3 separate regions of the Homo sapiens genome follow, and all the other regions are linked to region 3. Evidence: promoter capture Hi-C in human tissues and cell types (Jung and others, 2019). All regions are on one chromosome and are shown on one strand. The core of a region is centred on a gene start or on the middle of the fragment in contact, and the rest is flanking DNA. Distances in the headings are between cores, read along the strand shown.

What was found. Contacts are between HindIII fragments. The study calls those that stand out against the background at their distance.
Region 1: a fragment that was not itself captured here is called in contact with the fragment with the promoter of LBP in region 3 in 3 of the 25 tissues and cell types used here (IMR-90 fibroblasts, dorsolateral prefrontal cortex and pancreas).
Region 2: a fragment that was not itself captured here is called in contact with the fragment with the promoter of LBP in region 3 in 1 of the 25 tissues and cell types used here (mesenchymal stem cells).

Annotation. Positions count from the first base shown.
Region 1 is chr20:37,841,801-37,846,210 of GRCh38, forward strand. CTNNBL1 (catenin beta like 1) reads left to right here. Exons shown (of 16, transcript NM_030877.5): 13 at 539-619. Among named protein-coding and RNA genes, the nearest start is that of VSTM2L, 59 kb to the right of the region's middle. The HindIII fragment of the contact is 3,893 bases long and covers 1-3,781 here.
Region 2 is chr20:37,994,453-37,998,896 of GRCh38, forward strand. It overlaps TTI1 (TELO2 interacting protein 1), which reads right to left. Exons shown (of 8, transcript NM_001303457.2): 6 at 2,297-2,501; 7 at 1,923-2,010. Among named protein-coding and RNA genes, the nearest start is that of TTI1, 37 kb to the right of the region's middle. The HindIII fragment of the contact is 9,453 bases long and covers 1-4,444 here.
Region 3 is chr20:38,343,336-38,347,944 of GRCh38, forward strand. LBP (lipopolysaccharide binding protein) reads left to right here and starts at 3,147. Exons shown (of 15, transcript NM_004139.5): 1 at 3,147-3,305. The coding sequence starts at 3,182. RefSeq lists an enhancer at 423-1,200. The HindIII fragment of the contact is 17,182 bases long and covers 1-4,609 here.

The DNA.
Region 1 (4,410 bases), core at 585-3,084, 500 kb before region 3:
AAGTCAGGGCCTTTTTTAAAGTTGCTGAAGGAGGTTTTCTTGCTCTCTCTTCTGACTCAAAAGCAACTAAAAAGATTTTACTCAGGCATTTTTAAAAAAAGATCAGCTCTGGGGCAGAATCTGAACATGAAAGGTTTCAGTTTGAAAAAAGAAATTTCTGTAAAGTTCTAAGTGAATATCAAGTGTGTAACTTCAAGCTCCTTCTCTTGGCAAGAAGGGACTTGAATTTTTATCTATTTATTTGTTTTTAACAACGTGCATTCCTGGGAGTTCTAGAAGGGCTGAGAATGCATAGCCTCCTTTCGGGAATGGGCCTGGTTCAAACTGCATTCATCCTAAGTGTTTGCTTTGTTCTGCCCCAGCCCTTTGATCCATTCCTGATGTGTCCCTAAGCAAAGCTTCTCTCATCCGCTGTAAGGAGTGCCAGAGCGGGTCTCCCTTTGTAAGGGAGCGACAGTGAGATGAATAGGAGTGCCACTGTTCTCTTGCTGTGCGTTGTCTTTCCTTCTCACTCAAGCCTGTGAAATCTCTCTTTCAGGTTGACAGACTAATGGAGTTGCATTTTAAATATCTGGGTGCAATGCAGGTGGCGGACAAGAAGATTGAAGGGGAAAAACACGTATGTATCCCTGCCTCACTTTTGCCAGCTATTGACTTGCCCTCCGTTTGGGTCCCTTGTGTTCCTCCCATCACCCCACAGGATAGGTAAGGGCAGCAGTGCCATCTAACATGTTATAGAAGTAGAGCAGATGATGGTCTGCCAAGTGGTTACGACTGCTCTTCTGACACGAATGACACCCTTTCAGGAAGAAGTATGTGTAGCGTCCATCCAGGTCTGACCTGGGAGTCTGGGTGGACAGCACAGGCACCCTTGACAAGAGCTTCTCTTCGAAAATCTGGCCAAAGTACAAGGCTGTGACCTGGTACCATGTTGGCAGAGCATGTCTTAGTACTCACACTTGCTGGCTTCTGAAATCCTGAAGGAGGCATGCTGAGGAAGGGTGATCACAGCGTAGAGGAGCTGGAAGGAAACTGAATGGTCCTGGAATCCAGTTACCCCATTTACAGATGGAAAACTGGAGACCTAGAGAACGGAAGCTCAGATGCATTGCAGCCAAGCCAAACCGCAGGTTCTGAAGGGCTGACCCTTGTTTTCTCATGTTGATTGTTGCTAAGAGAAGTGACACCTGCTGGATGTTTTTTCTGGAGGGGCTGTGCTTACTATGGTGTTATCCCACCCTCTGTGTTTTTCACCTCCTTCCGTTTTGTTCTCCACCATCTCTGGCCACTGTAGCTTTCCATCTGTATTCCTTAATCAGGGTAAGTTTTCCTATCACTGTTTAATGTCCAATTTGTATTCGCTCCCCTACAAGACACTTCTCAAGTCTTCAGTCACATTATAAAATGACGCCTGGCTTACTTTTTTCCAAGTCTACAGGAGACCTCATTTTCCTTGTGATCTTGTTTTGCTGCATCACTCCATCCTTTTCAGTCTTTTCTTAAAGATACACTTGAGGCTTTTGAACTTCACTGGTGGAAGGACTGATTTTAGTATAGCCCTCCCCACCTTCCCGTGTTGGGATCATCCAGCTAAGGCTACCGTGTTGCACTGGGAATTACACCAGCATTTTCCCTCGGGGCATGCCTCAGGCCAGAGTGAGAGACTAGGGCTGTGGGGATGTGGGGAGACAGTGACCTTGTTATCTGTCCTGTTTCTCTTTGCCACTTCTTATCCACCTCTTCCCTTTCATAAAATGTGGCAAGATTACCTTTTCTACTAGACTGCTGCACCTCTATCTAGAAGACCAGTCAGTCACTGACCAACCTATCACTGCGCTTTTAATTCATTCCATCGTCCAAAAATGTCAGAGTTACCAAAGGTTGTTTAACTTAACCTGAGGGAATGAGGGAAAACATGAAGCTTGAGGGGTTGGATCACCTTGGCTAGTATCATTCATGAACACCAGCAGATAGGTAGCTGTGCTTTTCATTCTTGTGATTTCCCTATGATCCCTAAACTGAGTAAGTCCTCAGAAGTTTGCGGATTGATTGAATTGATTAACTGGGGCTTTCTTCTTTTATACAGTGATACTACTGCAAGATAAAAGGCAGAGACTCTAAATTCTGAGGCTGCACTTTAGATATTAGCATGTTCCACCACAATTCTTTCATTCCAATTCACCCCAACCCCTTTGTTCTTTAATTAAACTTTCCGTTTCCATCTTTTCTACCCTATACAGTAACTTGGACGTGAAGGACACTCAGTGGTTGTTAAATTGTGGGAATAATGTACTCCTTCTCTTTATCTGAATGATAATTAGAAACAACTTGAAATTCCCTGGACTTTTGTAAGGAAAAAGCCATGAGACAGTTAGAACTCCAGCCCTGACAGAATCCCCGATGTTATCTGCTAGGGAGGTTTTGAGGGGTGGCAAAGAGAAGACCTGGGAGTCAGGGGACCTAGGATTTAAGAGCAAGCACCACCTTTAAATCACTGCTTGTCACTATGCCTCATGTAGCCTCAGTTTCTGGCCTATAAAGTGATACTAGCCAAGGTGATCCAACCCCTCAAGCTTCATGTTTTCCCTCATTCCCTCAGGTTAAGTTAAACAACGTTTGGTAACTCTGCCATTTTTGGACAATGGAATGAATTAAAAGCGCAGTGATAGGTTGGTCAGTGACTGACTGGTCTTCTAGATAGAGGTGCAACGGTCTAGTAGAAAAGGTAATCTTGCCACTTCTAGCTCTGAGATTTTGGATAATCGAGGTGACCTTCCTAAGCTTTGTTTTCTCATCTGTAAAATTAGAATAAAAACACCTCCCTTTTGGGCCAGACACAATGGCTCACACCTGAACTTTGGGAGGCCAGACATCCCTACCTTTTTAGGGTAGGCCAAAAATTTTGGGAGGCCAAGGCGGGCAGATCACTTGAGGTCAGAAATTTGAGACCAGCCTGGCCGACAAAGCAAAACCCCCATTTCTACTAAAAATACAAAAATTAGCTGGGCATGATGGCGCACGCGTGTAATCCCAGTTACTCGGGAGGCTGAGGCACGAGAGTCACTTGAGCCTGAGAGGTAAGGGTTGCAACAAGCCGAGATTGTGCCACTGCACTCCAGCCTGGGTGACAGAGCGAGACCCTGTCTCAAAAAATAAAAACAAAACACCTCGCGTTAAAGGTTATTATGAAGACTAAGCATAAAGTATAGAAAGTACTTTGCTCAGTAAGTAGAAGCTCCCGCCGCTGCTGCTGCTAGAATTTCCTAGCTTCCTTTGGAATTCTTGTGTAATTTTTTAGTAAGCCTTTTAGTAAGCCTTTTTAGTAAGCAGTCCTTTTCCTGAGAGCGTCCTCCTTGCCAGAAGGAGTCGCCTAGCAGAAGAGAGGGTTGGCACCATCAGATGCTTTATTTGAGGTGCAGCTTAGACTTTTTTTGAGGGAGACCTAGTAAGTGGCTGGGTGTCAGGGAGCAGTTTGCACATAGCTGTTAGGAAACTTGGCCTGCTTCCCAAAAGATTATCTATTATCAGCATTGAAGAGGGTGTGAAATTGATTAGCACTGACGGAGAGTAATCGCTGCAGCCACTCTCCCAGCATTCACAGAGCTGCTGTGTGCCACGGGCACCAAGGCCGTGCTGTTCCCTGACAAACATCTGTCTCCTTGATGCCAAGGCCGTTTTGCTGGGCACTGGCAAACATTCCAAGGCCATTAGTGCTCAGCAGCCTCAGTGTTACGCAGAGAGCCAGGGCAGGTAGGGGTGAGGGATGCGTTTGTGAGCAGTGTTTGCTGCTAGCACTCAGGCGCCATCCTAGCAGATGAAGCCGCCTCACAGGTGTAAAGTGACTTAGAACAATACGACCTCCTTTTCACCTCTGCCTCATGCCGTCTTCTCTCTGAGGTTGCAGACAGTTTGTCTCCTTGCCCCCATTAAATTTGAATGTCCTACACCAATTGGGAGCTTAGCAAATATTTGTCGACTTGAATTGAATGCTTATTTTTCAGGCATTTTGAAGACTTTGACTATCAGATCAGTAGTGAATAATCTCTCACATACCTCACCAAGTCTGCAACCAAAAAACCTAAGATAACAGGCTCAAGTATTGGTATTTTTATTGTCTCAGCCATCACCTTCCCTGTGAACTTCAGACTTCTCTGGGCACAGTGCACGTGCCCATGGTTTGCAGTTGCCCAGGTCACTGGAGAGAATCTAGTCATTTGGCAAATGTTGATGAGGTGCCCGCTCTGGGAATGTGCAAGGCCAGGCACCAGCTGGGGGTGAGAAGCAAAAGTGCCAAGAAAAGAATGGGCCTAGGGGTGGTGCCGCAGACAAGGGCTGGAGGATCCGGGGAGTGGGGAGAGGTCATCTAAGGCTAGAGTCACCCTAAACTCTAGGGGGGCTAGTTTTGTGGCT
Region 2 (4,444 bases), core at 143-2,642, 350 kb before region 3:
CCATACTAAGTGGCCCACCCACCCACCCCTCTCTCCATGCGGTAATGAGGCTCACAGAGAGACCAGGTTTCCTATTGTCTCAGGCTTCTTCTCCCACTTAGAGAGCTTATTAATTTCAGCATCAAGATGCCAAATCAGCTCTTGATCAAGGATCAAGACTGATTTTTTTTCCCAACTTCAAGATAAGTTTGCAAGTGACATGTGTGAAGCAATCCACCTAGCTCTTCCTCCCCCTCCCTGCCCATCAGGAGGGAGGCCATCTGACTCAACACTTGAACGGAATGTGCTGGAGCAAACAAAGGGAGCTGCGGTCAAGTGGTGGGGCTGCGTGTTCCTCCACCTGAGGCTCCCTGAACACCAGCTCAAGATTCAGCAAGGTCCAATTCCGGGTTTAATTGCTTTCAGCAGCAAAAAAGAGAACTAGAAATGAAAAGATAATGAATTGAGAATATTAGCTTATTTGATGGTTCTAAACTTGAAGGATGGGATGGAGTGGGTGTAGGAAAAATAGAATGGATGGGGAATGTGAAAATCAGACCTTTAACTCTTGGTTGTAATAGGCATCTAAAAGGATTTACTTCAAGATAAACTCATTATGTTCTTGAGTTGCACTTTAAGTCACAGCACAATCAGCTCCAGGGGCACCGCCCAGGGAGGACTATTTTCACCCTAAATTGATTCTGTACGGAATAAAAATGCCTGGGGACAGAAGCTGCTTAGGATGCGCCCCTGTGCTCATGAAACTATGACTGATTCTGGGACTAAGGGATGTGACGGGAAAGGGACAGGAAGAAAAAAGGAAATGGGAAATCAAGAGCAAAAAACAGCAAAGGACAATAAATCAATTCAAGAAGATATTACCATCACTCCCAGGGAGTGCAAGGTTTCTAAGGAGCAAGCTGGCTCTCCTCACTGCACAGTCAGAGCAGCCTTTCCACTCCTCAGGGAATGAGTTGACTCCTAACTCCCACCCCACTGAAGAGGATCAGAGATGTGCCTCTAGAAGCTAGGAAGATGCAGGGATTCCGCTGCAGGCGTGAAGCTGGTGAGGCTGAAGGAGCTGCAGGGCTCAGAGCGGCACAGAGTGCCAGGCCCAGCTTTCGCCCCAGCAGCAGACCTACCCTGGGATGGCAGTTCCAGGATGCAGGCTGCTCCCACCTGGAAGGAAAGCTTGGAGAAGAGGGGCAGAGTAGATTTGGGGTCTCATGTCTGGGGAATGCTGTTGTGCTGAGTTTTAGCTCTTAGTCCTAAAGTAACCAGCAACAGCTTCTTCTCCTAGAGGTGATACAGCTTTTCTCAAATAAGCATGGTCAAACTCTTAGAAATTGGAATCATCTAGTTTCAGAATCAGAAAAGGCCCTTTAAGCCATTAGTCTGGCAACTCTTAAGGTTCTTCGGGTCACAGATTCCTATTAGAACCTATGAATGGTTCCTATTAGAAAAAGGCACATGTGCACCTGCCTGCACACAAACAATTTTGCTTTGCACTTGTGAGGGTTCATGGCACCGATGCCCATCTAAGACCTGCCGTGGAGTCGACATATGCCATATCAGGAACCCAGCACTTTCACTTTGCTGTTGAAGAAGCCAAGGCATGAAGAAGTGCCAGGCACCTGGTCTCCAGGCCTAGAAGCAGATTCCCCTCCAACCAGGAGGGTGCTGAGTCCTCTCTAGCACACCGTCTTTCTGCTTCTTGACCCTCTGGAATTGTTGCTGACTTTGCAGCAGAGGAAAAGGTTACTGGCAAAGAGAAACACATCTAGTAAAAATACCATCTCTAGTGCTGGCACAGTTAAAGAATTATCTTAACCTGGCAGGGTGACAGAGAAAAGAGCAGAGATGCCTCAACTCTGCTTGCCATTAGCAAATCATCTGTAATTTAGAACAAACGTAAAGGGATGCGGGTGATCAGGCAGACGTACCTCCTGGCAGCCTCTTGTAATTTCACGGGCTGTTTGACACTGAGGTAAATCAAGCAGGCATCAGCCACTTTATTCAGGTCACCCTCACCTGCAGAAAAGAAAAACAAAACAAGCATCAGCCCTTACACTTCATTTGGGACAAGCAGTGACCAACTGTGTCTGGAGAAACTGCAACAGCTAGGCAAGATGCTCTGGGCTCTCTACTCCATCCCGCCAAAGAACACATCAAGATAAATGGACAAATGAGGCCAAAATAAGACGGAAGGAGGTACACAGAGGGGAGGGGAGGGGGGCACGACTGAGCAGAGGGCATGATGGCAGGGGTGAGACAGATGCTAAGTGTGTGTGTTCAGGTGGAACTGCCTGGTACCCACCTAGGTCCAGTCTCTCACAGAGGGGGCCCAGGCCCTGTAAGACAGCCAGCTGCAACTTGAAGGCCAGCGTGTGCGAGTAAACTGGTCCAGCCCTGGCACTGATGGGGGCCTGGGTGACTAGGGAGCCAGCCAGCTTTGGCAGGACATCTTTGCAGAACCGGCTGCGAAGAAAGTCACCACACTTGCTTCCCAGGGTACGTAAAACCTGCAGAAACAGCCTCCAACCTGGTGAGTGAACATTGCCAAGGCAGCAAGAGAGCTAAAGAATGCTTGGTAATTCGATTTCATCTAGGTCTCTGCTTGGGGGAAAAAAAAAATAGAATTACTGCTGTTAATTCCTTGCCCATGGTTTGTGATTCTGACAGTTATGAATTTGGAGGTCTCTGCTCCCAAGGCATGGCTGCTTCTACCCATAAATACAGATTACATGGGGAATAATTCAAAGGAATCTTGGGTTGGATGAATAATATGATTAATATCTTGATTTCCCTCCCATTTTTGTTAAAAAAAAAAAAAAGAGAAGAGCTTAAAGCAGTTCACATAGATCATTTCTTGAATCTTCCTAACATCCCTTGAGAAAATATGTATGCTTTAAACTCTAGCTAGCTGAGCAAACACAAATACTATGGTCCAGCTGCTGCCACATGCAGGCATCAGGAGGTTAGTGACTGGGCCGAGGTCCCTGGGCTGAACCAAGGCAGGGTCCCTGAAGTTGCAGCCGACTCGGTGTTCCTTCTGTTCAGCTGCACAATCTCTTATGCACATCACCCTCATTCTATCTTTCAGAACAGATAGTTTCTTTGCATGTCTTGTTTTAAACTTTCTCTAGCAGAACATATTGAAATGTTTTGCCCTGCTGCACAAGACTGAGTATACAGGATAATAGGAATTTCTTTAAAAATTGGTAAGCAAGGCATAACCAGCACAGTGTTTGCTCATTTTGCAGAGAACAAGGCTCTCATTTTAGGTCCCTCAGCTGAATGGCACAGCTTCTATAGACCTCAGTGTCATCATCGTGTCTGCGCATGGGGAAAGCAGCCTCAGTTATTGTGTACACATCTTTATTTTTTTTCATTTTTCTATGCTTGCTGTTATTTCAGACAACCTATTAATTCTCACCAAACCCCGCCCTGCAGTACATCTGGATAAGATTTAGCAATACCACCTCCCTCTCCCTTAATCTCTTTCTTTTTTCGAGATGGAGTCTCACTCTGTCGCACAGGCTGGATGGAGTGCAGTGGCACGATCTTGGCTCACTGCAACCTCTGAAGCCCGAGTTCAAGCAATTCTCCTGCCTCAGCCTCCTGAGTAGCTGGGATTATAGGCGCCTGCCACTGCGCCCAGGTAATTTTTGTATTTTTAGTGGAGACAGGGTTTCACCATCTTGGCCAGGCTGGTTTTGAACTCCTGACCTTGTGATCCACCTGCCTCCGCCTCCCAAAGTGCTGGGATTACAGGCATGAGCCACCGCGACTGGCCTAATCTCCCTCTTTCTTTGGCACACATACATACACACACACACGTATCATTTTGTGCATTTTGTTTTGGGAAAAAAACATTAACAATTTTTAATATTTTAATTTGGTCTAGTATATGCTGAAGAATTTACAGAAGATCAAACTACTTTGGCCAACGGTATCTGGTGCATTACCAGCTTCATTTTGTGTCCCTACAGATCTTTTCTCTCTGCCTCATCTTGCGCACCTTCTTCTAATTTATGGCAGCTCGCTGTGGTATGTATCTCTGCAGGTTGCCTTAAGGGCTTTTTAGAACAAGAAAGGATATAAATAAGCTAAAATATCCGTGCTAATGTAAGCCAAACTAAGCCAGGGAGAATAATACCTTACATATATATAGGACTGTTAGCTTTTCAAAGCATTTCACCAAACAGTCCCATTTTATCCCTGACAACACTATGAGAAAGGTGGGCTAGGTGTTCCTAAGCCCAACACGAAAATGGGTGGTCCTGGGTTTTGTCAGCATCACTCAGCTGGGCAGAGGATGCCCACTGCTAGAACCTCAGCCCCTTCGCCTTGACTCCTGTGCAGTGCAAATATGGTGTGAACTCAATGCTCTGGGTTTGTATCACTTACTAGCTGTTCGATTGTGAGAAAATTCCTTAACTTCTCTGAGCTTCTTTCTTCCTCT
Region 3 (4,609 bases), core at 1,897-4,396:
GGCTCGGGGCTTTTATACACTGGCTTGGTTCTGGGGTTTCTTCTCCTCCTTGATTCCTCCCTTCGGTGGGCTGCTGCGCCCTCCCTGCATGCGCAATGGCCTGCCAGCACTTGGGAGGGGCCGCATGCGCAGTGTGTTTACTAAGGTTGTGCGCATGCTCACTTGGGGTGATTTTCCCTTACTGGTCCGTCGCCGCAAGAAAAAGGTCATATACAAGTCAGACTCCAACATTTGCCCTTCTGCTCGACCTTACCAGGGAATTGTGGTTTGCTGGCTCCAGATGATGTCAACTATCTGTTAGGGAACTCCTCTCCCTCTTGGCGCCATTCGTGGCCACTTATCATGTCAGAGGGACAGTTTTATGATCGCCTGTCCATCATTTGATGCACTGCCATTTCTGGGGGCCCTCTCCTGCACAAGAACACAATAAACAGCCTTGTTAAAAGAGTCCCTATTTCACTGCAATAAGACTGAGTGGTGGCCAGAGTGGTAGCAGCTGTTGCTTTTGTGGAATTGGATGGACAGCCTGGTAGGAGAAAGGCCCAGGGGTTCTGACCAGCAGTGGGGTCGTGCTGCTCCCTGAGGCCTCTGCTGGGTCCTGGGCCATCAGCAGGGACCTTAGCCAGCAGTGGGCACCTGCAGGGGTGGAGGCCAGGCCTGGGCCATGTGGCAGCTCTAAGGTCCAAAGATTGCTGCTGTGGGAAATTCCCACCCCTGCAAATGACTCCCAGCCAGGGACATCCTTAAACTGCTGCCAGAGGAAGAGTGACATCTATGTCCCCATAAGATCCTTATGCTCCAGAATGTCCTCCCCCACTCTCCTCCCCTCCTGGGCAGGCTGAGGTCCAGGAAGCAAAGGCCCCTAGGCACACTGGGGATGCACCTGTGAGCCCTTTCCTGCTCCAAAGCCTCCCAAAGGCTGGCTCCTTACCCTGAGGCCTCTGCTCAGCTTGTTGCCTCCCAAGAGAACCCTGCCCTGACCAGAGTTTTGGAATGGCATCCTGCAGACCTGGACTTAAATTCCTGCTGGGTGACTGCAGCCTACATCACTTCACCCTGCCAAACCTCAGTTTCTTCATCTCAAGACAAGACTAAAATATCCACCTGGGGTTGCTGATGCAAGGATGAGAGGAGACGTGCAGCTTAACCAGCACAGCGCCTGCACATAGTAGGTGCTCAATAAATATCAGTTTCTTTCCAATTTCTGCTGGGTGCTGCAAGGATCTCAGGAAATGGAAGACTCAGCCGTGCCTGCAAGGAGCCATCAGACTGGTGGTGTGGGGACTGAGGGGAGGGACGGATGAGGATCCCAACAAACCTCAGCCCCAGTGACAGGAGCAACACGGTACAGAGGAGCAGAGAGGCCTGGACTGTGGGGTTCCCTGTGCTTAACGTGGGACATTCTGATCTTAACCTCAGTGCCTGCCAGTGCTGTTTGTGACCTATTGGGAGTCACCCTGTTAATCCCACCACATTCAGTTGGTTGAGGCCATCATGAAAACCTGCCCAATTTCAAGGGAAGGGGGCAGAAACATTACCTTTTGATGGAAGGAATATCAAAGAATTCGTGGGCATATTTTTAAAGGACCACAATTATCAAAAAGCAGAGTGGTTAATGCTGTGGTGGGGAAAGCGCAAAGGGTTCTGGGACCTCAGAGGGGACCCTTTCTAGAATCCAGAGAAGCATGGGAGTGGTCAGGGAAGGCTTCCTGGGGGTGAGGGCAAAGCAGAACTCACAAATGTAAGCAGGGCTGGGGCAAAACTCTAAAAATTAAACACAGTCTGTACTATAAATTTTGTTTTCCAGAATGAAATTTTACTATCTTTACTTACTGCGAATATATGCCCGGGACCATACCCCCAAGAAAATAAAAATTTTAGAGGCTGGGCATGGTGGCCCAAGTCTATAATCCCAGTATTTTGGAAGGCCAAGCGGGAGGCTTACTTGAGCTCAGGAGTTCGACACCAGCCTGGGCAACATAGCAAGACCTCGTCCCTACTAAAATACAAAAAATTAGCTGGACATGGTGGCTCACACCTGTAGTCCCAGCTACTTAGGGGGCTGTGGTGGGAGGATCACTTGAGCCCAGGAAGTTGAGGTTGCAGCGAGCGATGTTCATGCCACTGGACTCCTGCTTGAGCAACAGAGTAGACTTTGTCTCAAAAAATGAAAAAAGAAAAAAAAATTGTACGTATCAACAAGCAAAAACTTTTTTAACACTTATAATTCTACCCCCACAACCAGAGACAATGCCTCATGACTCCTTGCTAAATATTTTCCAGATTGTTGAACATAGAAGCCTATTTTGAACCCCCCAAAATAGAACCTTACTCTATGGTGCCATCGGAAACGGATGCCTCATGACATCCCTTTCCTTGCCAAGAAATACCTTTATTTCTGCAGCCTCACTTTAAGGGGCATGTCATAATTCATTTAACCAATGCCCTTCTGGTGGATACATGAGGTTGGGTCTCACTTCTCCTGTCCTGTTTCCCACAGCATAGCAGTGGTATCTTGGAGCAGTGATTTACTGGCACACTGACTCAATTATGTATTTAAGGGCAAGTCCCTGAAATTGAATTCCTGGGTCACAGGGCATGCAACTGTTTAAACATTTGCCAATTGCCTTCCAGAAAATTTCACCACCAGCAAGGTTTGAGAAACACTGTTTTCCCATTGGGGGAAACATTTATTTTTTAAATAAACGAGCCAATATATTTTAAAAAAGAGAGTTTGGTTGGTGCCAGATGTAGCTTCACTCTCAACCCTGCCCTCTGCTGGGGGTGAGATCTCAAGGGAGCTATGTGGCTTTTTTGAACCTCAGTTTCCTCATCTGCTAAACCAGGCCTTCCTAGCCGAGCTCTTAAGAGACTGGCTGAGATGAGGCAAGATGAACAGTGATGAATATGGGGTCTTTCTGTGGGGAGGGTGGACAGGGATGATCATAGGAGTCAGGCTTCCTCATCCACTGATCTGGGCAGTGAAAACTGGCTTCTAAGTATGACCTTATGACTTCAGTGATGTCGCAAGCAGGTTCCAGTCCCTGTGCCTCCCCTTCCCGCTCCCAGGAACCCATCCAGCCTCAGGAACTGCCCCCAGCCATCGAGCCTTGGCTACTTAAGGGACCTGGGCCCAATCCACAGCTGGGACAGTCCTGGCCCACTGCACTGGGAATCTAGGATGGGGGCCTTGGCCAGAGCCCTGCCGTCCATACTGCTGGCATTGCTGCTTACGTCCACCCCAGAGGCTCTGGGTGCCAACCCCGGCTTGGTCGCCAGGATCACCGACAAGGGACTGCAGTATGGTAAGAAGCCACATCTGCTGGCTGGACTTGGCAAACCCACGCTCCAGGCTGCTCTGGGTACAGTGGGGACAGGGAGTGGGGACACAGACCGGACCCTCTCCCTGGGGCAGTGCCACCTTCTGGGTCAGGTGGCTCTGGCTCCTATTCTGGCCTTACTGCCCACCAGCTGAGTGCCCTGGGCATGTTATTTGTGGTAGTGAGGTCCTCCACCAGCCAACAGAACACAGCTTTGCGTGCAAGTAGTTGATTTGGGAAATGATTCCAGGAAACACTGTAGGGAATCGGTACTGAGATGAGGAAGGGAGGGCAGCCAGGAGAGAGTGTGCAATTAAACCAGCCACCACCTCTGATGATGGGAACCACTCAGCTGGGAAAATTCTGCGTAAAGTTTGGAAACACATGCCTCTGAACTGGAAGTCAGAATTGTGGTCACCTCTAGAGGCAGGCAGAGACCCTGAAGGGCATGAGGGAGGTCTGCCGGGGTGCTGGAAGTTGCCATATCTTGATCCAGGTGGTGATCACATTCCTGTATAAACATTAAAAATTATTTAGCAATACCTTTAAAATTTGTGCCCGTTAGGTACTTTATGTATATTATTCCTCAATTTTAAAGAATGGGCAGGCCAGGCACAGTGGCTCACGCCTGTAATCCCAGCACTTTGGGAGGCCGAGGTGGGTGGATAGCTTCAGGCCAGGAGTTCGAGGCAAGCCTGGCCAACATGGTGAAGCCTCGCCTCTCCTAAAAATACAAAAATTAGCCAGTCTTGGTGGCAGCCAACTGTAATCCCAGCTACTTGGGAGGCTGAGGCAGGAGAATCGCTTGAACCCGGGAGGCAGAGGTTGCAGTGAGCCGAGATCATGCTGCTGCATTGCAGCCTGGGCAACAGAGGGAGACTGTCTCAAAAAAATAAATAAAAATAAAACAAAGAATGAGCAAAAGTAGGAGTATTTTTTTTTAAATACTGAAACAAAGCCTCCCGACTATCCAGGTGGCATGGGAACTGGGATATTTATACACCACAGTGATTGATTGAGGGCTTCTGGGCCGGGGGTTTGTCAACTCCCCAGCACTTCTGTCCTGTTGCATGTACCTGCTTTCTGCAGTTCCAGGACAAAAAGCCTCGGGACATACAGGCTCAGGGAGGCAGACATTGGCAGCTGGGAGTCAACTGTCACTCACTGGAAAGACTCAAGGATATGGACAGGCACTGACCACATGTCTTCTCACATCCCTAGAGCCTCAATTGCCTTACCTATTAAATGAGATAACAACATTCCCTTAGATAGGGTTGTTGGGAGCCCAG